Linked DNA regions of Homo sapiens: region 1 is linked to region 2. Evidence: promoter capture Hi-C in human tissues and cell types (Jung and others, 2019). All regions are on one chromosome and are shown on one strand. Each heading gives the region's core, a stretch centred on a gene start or on the middle of the fragment in contact. The rest is flanking DNA. Distances are from core to core; before and after follow the strand shown. Region 1 overlaps EMX1 (empty spiracles homeobox 1). Region 2 holds the start of NOTO (notochord homeobox).

Evidence for each region. Contacts are between HindIII fragments. The study calls those that stand out against the background at their distance.
Region 1: a contact is called between a fragment that was not itself captured here and the fragment with the promoter of NOTO in region 2, in 2 of the 25 tissues and cell types used here (spleen and thymus).

What each region holds. Positions count from the first base shown.
Region 1 is chr2:72,928,602-72,933,188 of GRCh38, forward strand. The region is part of intron 2 of EMX1 (empty spiracles homeobox 1); the gene reads left to right. Among named protein-coding and RNA genes, the nearest start is that of EMX1, 13 kb to the left of the region's middle. The HindIII fragment of the contact is 3,445 bases long and covers 1,386-4,587 here.
Region 2 is chr2:73,200,670-73,205,474 of GRCh38, forward strand. NOTO (notochord homeobox) reads left to right here and starts at 1,905. Exons shown (of 3, transcript NM_001134462.2): 1 at 1,905-2,379. The coding sequence starts at 1,998. RefSeq lists an enhancer at 2,748-3,299. The HindIII fragment of the contact is 15,336 bases long and covers 1-4,805 here.

The sequences.
Region 1 (4,587 bases), core at 1,858-4,357, 270 kb before region 2:
CTCTGAACAGATCAGCAGGTGTTTCTTGACCTTGCCTGGGTTAGAGTTTAGCTGAGCGGTGAAGGCAAAGGGTACAGAAACGTGGCCTGTGGCTTTGAAGATTTCTTACTGAGTGATGAAGGCTAAGTGCAAAGCTTGCACATTTGTGAAACATGCACAGGAAGAATGACTAGGGTCCCCTTTGAGGTCACAGCTGTGGGCTGAGGGGTGTCAGGATAGAAACGCTTGAGAAGATGGCTCCAGGAGGCCTCAGACCTGGAAGACTTGGGGGGATGCCTAGGATCCTAGGTTGGAGGGAAAGAAGGGCAGGGTTTGAGGCAGGCAGATGAAGATAGAGCCACCATCTTGGAGCCCAAGGGCAGGGAGATCTTGGGAGGCAGGAGTTACGGTCACCTGCCTATGGCTTTTTCCCCTCAGAGGCATGGAAAGGAGGATTTGGAGGGTCCTTTCCTGCTCTGGAATGTTCTGGCCTTAGAGGGATGGATAAGAGGGGGATATCCAAGTGACCTGAATTTTAGGGAAAAATCAAGAGACATTTGTTCCTAGCTCACGGTGTGTCCACATCTCTTCTCTAAGTCTTGGCTTTTCTTCAAGAACTTCTGCATCTCATGTTCCAGGAGTCCTGTGTGGGAGGATGAGGGGGAGATAAAGGAGATTAGAGTGGTTCTGTGAGGAGCTGGGACCAACATGTCCTGAGGTGAATCTTATGATGTCTCCCTGAGAGAGACAGAGGAAGGGTCCAGGCTGGGCTGAAAGAGGAGGAGACAGGGAGGCTTAGGGAGATCATGGTTATGGTTGGTGGGGAGCTGGAGGTGACCTCAGCTTACTGAGGTGAAGGTTGAACTTAGCATGGCATTGATTGGGCTTGACCTTGAGAGTGGGAACAGCCCACATGATCAAATGATAGGAAATGGGTCCCCAGGGAAGAGAGAAAGCTGAGGGGTGACTTGACTGATATCTCCAGGCTCCTGTCCATTCTGGGATATTTGAAATCTTTGAAGACAGGACACGTATTCACCTGAAAGTGTGCAGGGGCCTGGAGCCACAGACTTTTCCATTTGCAGGAGTGGTGAAAAAGAAGGGATCCAGACCTCGTTCATTCAGAATAGCAGATTATTCCAAAGTAAAGTCTGATTAGTTCTGAAATATCGGCTGGAGCCATAGTTTGCTTGTTTGTTAGTTCATTTTTCCCTTTGTTCTTGCATGCATGTCTTCATTTATTAATGCATACATTGATCAGTCCTCTAGCAAACTGATACATTCATTCATCCATAGCAGTTTCACCTTCTTCATTCTGCCTGACTCAAGCCAACCCTTCTTCTGCCCAGCAGTAGGTGTCCCTCCTCCAACTTCCCCTAAAAGTGGCCAATCCAATTTACCATGTGGAATATTAAAAACTGGCCCTCTTGCAAAAGTGTCCACAAAACTAAGAAAAAGATCCAGTTTCTCCATCATTGAGCACTTCTCAAAGCCTTTGCTGATTAGAATTCTACCCCTCTTCTGTTCATTTTCTCCTGTTTTCCAGGTCTGGCCCAGGTACCTCTTGCCTAGAGCATAGGCTTGTCCAGCCAGATGACTATACATGGAACATGTCCTCTGGGCAGGGCACTGGGACTAACATAACAGTTTGGCTCTCCAGTCTCATAGTCTGGTGAGGAGGCAGACGTAAATAAATAAATTAGTGCACAGTGGGGGTCACTGTTACTGAGACTGGGAAGAGGTACTAAGGAACTACAGGCAGGTGATGGGGCAGGACCATTAAGGAACATCAGGACAGGGTCTTGAAGGCTAAGGAGAGTATTCCAGGGTTGGTAAGTCAGGAGAATGGAGACTTTTGGAAGGATGTGGCCTCTGAGAAACTGAGATGTTCACTTCACAGTGAAATGAGGACTTGGGAGACCACAAGGGACCTCTTGCTACAGCAGAGAGGTCAGAGTGGGCAAGGGGTCCTCCAGCTAACATTCCAACTGTACCTCGGGGCTTAGAGAGAGGTGAGTAGTGTGTTTGTGTTGGGGATGGGGAGGCATGTGCAGGACAGATCCAGCCTCCAAGCCATACCATATGACCCAGCTCCTTTCCAGGGCCTGTTTTCTCTAGGGAAGGGGCTCTGAAGGATCCAGAGTTGCCTGGCTGGGTTGGAGAGGTCATGAAATGTCACTCTCATCTCCTAATACACTCAGAGCCCAGTTCCTTTTCTTTTTCCAAGTAAAAAATAACTACCATTATCAATAATCTATTAAGGAAAATTCAGAAAAGTAGAAAGAAGAAAGAAACATCACCCACACTTTAGGTATATTTCCTTCTAGTCTTTTTTCCCCGTGTGTAGATTTTGTTTTTCTATGGTTGTGATCACACTGTGCCAGCCTTGTGCATCCTGGCGTTTCCATTAATGCTATGAAGTCATAAGCACTACCCTGTTATTGCAGTCTTTGTAAACAGCATCTGGACACTCAGCCCAAGGCTGTTCTCCGGAAGATGGCCAGGCTGCACAGGGAGAGGGTTTATGTCCCTGCCTCTAGAGAGATGCCTACTTGACCCCAGTATTTTTCATGGAGAAAATATTCAGAATCACCTTTCACTTGGGTGCCCTAGGAAGCTGCCTCTGGCCTATCCTGTGCCTGAAGTCGCCATCCAAAGCTTTCCTTCTTTGAGCCAGTGTTGCTAGTCAAGGGCAGCATGCTGGGCCCGTCCCACTACAGGCCAATGTGACCGTCAGTCTCCTTCCTGAAGGACACTTGGAAATGCATGTGGAAAGAGGAAGGTACAGAAAAGGGCCCCCGGTCCCTGGTACTGCCCGCATCACCTGACAGTCACCTTCGGCCAGCCCACTTGGGCTTCTCAGGAATGACACCCCGGCCCTGCATCTGGCCCTGAGTCACGCACAGGAGGCAGGGTGAGCTCACCCGCCCACTGACTGGCACAGTCATAGCAGGCTCCAGGGTGGGGGGCAGGGGCCAGGCTGCTGCCAAATGGTTGTGCTGAGAACCACCCAGGGTCCAGGTGGCCCTGCGCCCAAAGATAGGTGGGCTTGGAGTCCAGCAGCCTGTGCCCAGAGCCTCTGCCATCCTCCACGGCCGGCCTAGGTGAGATGTGCAGGCTATGGGCTTGGAAATGAGGGGAGAATCCCCTTGCCCTCACTCCATCCATCGAGGCCGGGCACCAACCCTTCCTGGGCCAGCTTTCCAGCCCCTGGCTGGCTGCTCTGCAGGCACTGAATGCCAGCTGCCCCCATCCCCATGCCAGTGCTCTAAAATCAGTGCTCTCAAACAAGGGCAGATGGCGCAGTGGAAGTTCTGGCAAGAGGGGACTGTGAGGGGAAGTCCTGGGGTAGGTGGGACAGAGAGGACTGCCTGGGAAGGGTGTAGGGGCAGCACCTCCTGGGCATGAAACCATCTGCAGGGCACAGGGGCCAGGCCTGCCTCTGCATGCACTGCTTGGCCTTGTGGCTAAGGCCTGTGCTTTACCCAGTTCTCTGGGAGCAGGAGCAGTCTTTCTGAGGCCTGCCCTCAGCCCTGCCCAGGGTTCAAGGATCTCTCCTCAGCATCATTGCTGCTGCCAAAACCAAGAGGCTACCCACCATTCCTCACCCGCAACTCTGCCACGCAGCACCGTCTGCACAGCTGCAGTTGGCCACATCCACTTGCTTTTAAATGTGCTGTCATTTCCTGGAAACCATCCAGGCCTTGTAGCCTGCCCTCTGCACCTCCTCCCCAAGGGGGGCCTCTGGAGCAAGAATCCAAGAGGTGCCCTGGCAGCTGCAAGTGTCCCCAGAACATTTCCTCTATGCATGAAGGACTGAAGCCCAGAGGGGGAAGGGACTTAGCTGAGAATCAGTACCCAGGATCCTCCTGCCAACGCTGAAGATGGTTTGGGTCTGGCCTGACTCTGCAAAGCCAAGTAAAGAACCACGGAGTCAGGGAGAGTTGACAGATGAAGGCTTTCTCCACAGCCCACAAGCACTAAGTCCAGTCCAGGAGCCAGGATGAGCCTCCCAGATTATGCATGAGAGGACATTAAGGGCTGTGTCCTGGACACTGAACAGATGCTGGAGGAGGAGGGAAAAGAGGCTTCCTGGAGGAGATGGCTTAGAACCATAGACCTGCCCTCTGCCTCATGCCTCCTCCATCATGGAGGATGGTTGTCCAGTTTCTGTTTGAACCCCACCCCATACCTTGCCAGGGCTCTCACTGCCAGACACAGAATAGGGGGCTCCCTGGGTTCAAAGTAGAGCTCACTTCTGTCCCCTGGGCTTCTCCTGACTGTTCCTTGTGTGACCTGTTCCCACATCTGGATGGGCTGCAGGAGCCAGTGCTGTGGGGACAGAAGGTCTGGAGCTGCCCGTGAAGGGCAGAATGCTGCCCTCAGACCCGCTTCCTCCCTGTCCTTGTCTGTCCAAGGAGAATGAGGTCTCACTGGTGGATTTCGGACTACCCTGAGGAGCTGGCACCTGAGGGACAAGGCCCCCCACCTGCCCAGCTCCAGCCTCTGATGAGGGGTGGGAGAGAGCTACATGAGGTTGCTAAGAAAGCCTCCCCTGAAGGAGACCACACAGTGTGTGAGGTTGGAGTCTCTAGCAGCGGGTTCTGT
Region 2 (4,805 bases), core at 655-3,154:
CAGGCACCCACCACAACACCCAGCTAGTTTTTGTATTTTTAGTAGAGATGGGGTTTCACCATGTTAGCCAGGCTGGTCTCAAACTCCTGACCTCAAGTGATCTGCCCGCCTTGGCCTCCCAAAGTGCTGGGATTACAGGCATGGGCCACCGCGCCCAGCCACATATGGTTTTAAGCTATTCAGATATTTCCTTTTATAAAGTGCCTAGTTCATGTACTAACCCATCTCAGTGGTCTTTTTAAAGTCTGTTGTAGGGCTGGGTGCGGTGGCTTACGCCTGTAATCCCAGCACTTTGGGAGGCCAAGGCGGGTGGATCACCTGAGGTCAGGAGTTCAAGACCAGCCTGGACAACATGGTGAAACCCCATCTCTACTAAAAATACAAAAAATTAGCTGGGCATGGTGGCGGGTGCCTGTAATCCCAGCTACTCAGGAGGCTGGGGCAGGAGAATCGCTTGAACCCAGGAGGCAGAGGTTGCAGTGAGCCGAGTGCCATTGCACTCCAGCCTGGGCAACAAGAGTGAAACTCCATCTCTAAATAAATAAATAAATGAATAAAAATAAAGTCTGTTATTCGTTTGGCTTTATTTTTGGTATACTTAACAAAAATTAGCTGGGTGTGGTGGCACATGCCTGTAATCCCAGCTACTGAAGCAGGAAAATCGCTGGAACCTGGGAGGCAAAGGTTGCAGTGAGCCAAGATTGTGCCACTGCACTCTAGCCTGGGCAACTCCATCTCAGAAAAAAAAAAAAAAAGGACTACTAAAAGAATGAAAAGGCAGGCCACAGAGTGACAGAGGTTATCTGCTTCTATGTATATTACAACGAAGGACTTGATTCCAAATTATCTATACATAAAACTCTTACAATAAGAAAAACATAGTGACCCAATACAAAAATAAGCAAACCAGTTGAACAGGCACTTCACACAAAAGAGGATATCCAAGTGGCTGATAAGCATGTAAAAAGATGCTCACAATGAACGGTCTTCAGGGAAATAAATGCAAATTAAAACCACATACCTAGGGGATTTGAAACAAGGCAGTTCTGTTAACCTCTCTTGCTGTATTTACTAATATGTAAATTGGAGATATTAATGCTTATGCTCAGGAATTTACAGTCTGAAGAAGGAATAAATGACACAACAGAAAACTGATAATTATGTATGGAAACACAGAATTATATACTAAAAGTCCAAGGTTAGAGACATAGTGGCCATATCTTTTACCCCTAAATCAACTCAAATCAAATCAAATCAAATCCTGAGCTCAAGCGATCCTCCCGCCTCGGCCTCCCACACAAGTACTGGGATGCCAGGCATGAGCCACTGCACCTGGCCAAAAAAAATATTAAAGAAAGAACGAAATTGGTAATCACAGCGCATCTCAAGGCAGGGAAACTAAAGGGCTGAGGCCAGATGGAAAATGTACTTATCACTGTGCTTATAAATAAAATATTTACATTTTAAAACAAACAAACAAAAAGTCCGCGCGGTCCTAGGTGAATCTGGCCGAGGCTTCTGCGTCAAGGACGGCGCGGGTCAGCTGAGGCCAAGACCGCAGGCACTGCCCTACCGCTCTCCAGATCACAGCTCCGCCTCTGCAAGGCCCCGGGGAAACGGGCATCCCTTCTTCAGTGAGCAAAGGAGAAAGACGGAGCCCGGTGGCTGGGTGTTTCGCCCAGGATCACCAGCGAGCTCAGAGTCCTCCCCACGACCGCCCCAGGGTGGGCATTTTTAAAAGCGGAGGAAGGGAGGGAACACACTCTTTGGTGCTGTGCCCACCTTGCCTCGCACAGAGCGGGCGCTCACAGGCTTTGGGGGCCCCGCCCGGACCGCAGTGGGGAGAGGCCGCCCCATGCCCCGCCCCGCCAAATTTAAGAGCCTTCGCCGAGCGCCAGGAGGTTCCCAGACAACCGGTCTTGCTCGCTGCCTTTTGCAGAATCTTCTCACTTCTCCCGAGCTCCCTTCCTTGCGTCCGTCCGGGCAACGGCCGCGTCATGCCTAGCCCCAGGCCGCGAGGCAGCCCGCCACCCGCTCCCTCGGGCTCTCGGGTCCGACCTCCGCGCTCTGGCCGCTCTCCGGCGCCCAGGTCCCCTACTGGCCCGAACACGCCCCGCGCTCCCGGACGCTTCGAGTCCCCTTTCTCGGTCGAGGCCATCCTGGCGAGGCCCGACCCCTGCGCGCCGGCGGCCTCCCAGCCGTCGGGCTCCGCCTGCGTCCACCCGGCCTTCTGGACCGCTGCTTCCCTGTGCGCCACCGGGGGTCTGCCCTGGGCTTGCCCGACATCGTGGCTGCCCGCCTACCTGAGCGTAGGTTTTTACCCTGTGCCAGGGCCGCGCGTGGCTCCCGTCTGCGGCCTGCTGGGCTTCGGCGTCACAGGTACTGCGGTCCCGGCGCCCGCACGCGGGGGACTGGGCGGGGGCTGGAGAGCCTAGGTCGCCACTGCCGGCGCCCCAGTGCAGGAGAGGGCACTGAGTGTGAGAATCACACACGGCTGGAGTGGGAAGGGGCTCTGCCACCGTTTACCTTGCAGTTGAAGCCGAGGACCGCGACAGTCTTGCTGAAAAAGACCCCGGCGCGAGGCTTCCCCCGCACGCTGCTGAGGTGGGAGAGGGTGGGTGTGAGGGCGGCGCAGCGCCTGAATGCGGTGGGCAGGAGGCCAGCGCTGGGGCTGCAAGGGGACCCAGCCCTGCTCCCGGTCTCCGCGTCCCTTGACTCCCTCGCACACCCCGGGGTAGCGCTTAGTGACAGAGACGCTTCCCAAAGCGGCTCTCGACCCGAACCAATGGCCCTGTTTTTTTTTTTTACGGGGTAGGGGGAAGTGGACGCTCCGGGCGGTGCTGTTGAGCGAGGAGCTGTTAGGAGCTGGTCAAGGCTCACACCCCACTACCGCCTCCACTGCTCACGTCTGTGAACTTGAGCTACACACTTCGCTCTGAGCCTGCGTGCATGCAATGCTCTTAAGTAGTGCTTAAGGGCCAGGCACTTAAATCTCATGAGAAAGTAATTGTAAGGTTGGGCGCGGTGGCTCACGCCTGTAATTTCAGCACTTTGGAAGACCGAGGCGGGTGGATCACCTGAAGTCAGGAGTTCAAGGCCAGCCTGGCCAACATGGTGAAACCACATCTTTACTTAAAAGACAAAAAATTGGCCGGGCGCGGTGGCTCACGCCTGTAATCCCAGCACTTTGGGAGGCCGAGACGGGCGGATCACGAGGTCAGGAGATCGAGACCATCCTGGCTAACACGGTGAAACCCCGTCTCTACTAAAAATACAAAAATTAGCCGGGCATGGTGGCGCGTGCCTGTAGTCCCAGCTACACAGGAGGCTGAGGCAGGAGAATGGCGTGAACCCGGGAGGCGGAGCTTGCAGTGAGTCGAGATCGCGCCACTGCACTCCAGCCTGGGCGACAGAGCGAAACTCCGTCTCAAAAAAAAAAAAAAAAAAAAAGACAAAAAATTAGGAGGGCGTGGTGGCGCGCGCTTGTAATCCCAGCTACTCAGGAGGCTAAAGCAGGAGAATCACTTGAACCCGGGAGGTTGAGGTTGCATTAAGCCGAGATTGCGCCACTGCACTCTAGCCTGGGCAACAGAGTGAGACTCCGTCTCAAACAAACAAATCAACAAAAAAAAGTAACTATAGAGGGAACTTTGCCTTCTAGCATTAAACATCCACCTACACGTGCTTTTGCCATTTTTGGTTGCCAGGTTCATGTTTCCCCATGTCCCCACGAAGAAAACAGGAGCAAAGTTAGTCCAAGCCTTATCAACCCATACAAAGATAGTTGTAACACAGTCTTGCCGGGTTCCTACTCCGTGGCACCCACCCCAATCCTGCATTTCCTCACCCCATTTCAGCAGTGCATTAACCCTTGGACTCGCAGCCCCATCTAAATTCAATACCACTGGATCTGGGAGCTGTGCCCATCACTCCCAGTCACCTTTCTCTGAGCTCTTCACACACCTGAGGTCTGAATTACAGTTTACTACTTCATGTTACAGTTGCCTCATTTTCAAGTTAGTTGTTTTCTTTTGTTCTGTTTTGTTTTGTTTTGAGACGGAGTCTCACTCTGTCTCCCAGGCTGGAGTGCAGTGGCGCTATCTCTGCTCACTACAACCTCCTCCTTCCGGTCTCAAGTGATTCTCCTGCCTTAGCCTCTGGAGTGGCTGGAATTACAAGCCCCAGCACCATGCCCGGCTAATTTTTTTTATTTTTTTATTTTTTTTTTTTGAGGCGGAGTCTTGCTCTGTCCTTAGGCTGGAGTGCAGTGGTGCAATCTCGGCTCACTGCAAGCTCCGCCTCCCGGGTTCACGCCATTCTCCTGCCTCAGCCTCCCGAGTAGCTGGTACTGCAGGCACATGCCGCCACACCTGGCTAATTTTTTGTATTTTTAGTAGAGACGGGGTTTCACCATGTTAGCCAGGATGGTCTTGATCTCCTGACCTCGTGATGTATTTCTTTTTCTGTGAACTACTGTTCTTGTATTTTGCCCATATGTATAGTTGGTTATTTAAAACAATCTATTTGTAGATGCTCTTTTCTATTGAGGAAATTAGCCCTGGCTGGGTGCAGTGGCTCACCCCTGTAACTCCCTCACTTTGGGAGGCCAAGGCGGGTGGACTACTTCAGCTCAGGAGTTGAGACCAGCCTGGGCAACATGGCAAAACCCCGTCTCTACTAAAAACACAAAAATTAGCTGGGCATGGTGGTGCGCACCTTGGCGGGGGCTGAAGTGGGAGGATTGCTTGTGCCTGGGAGGCAGAGGTTGCAGTGAGCCGAGGTCAAGCCACTGAACTCCAGCCTGG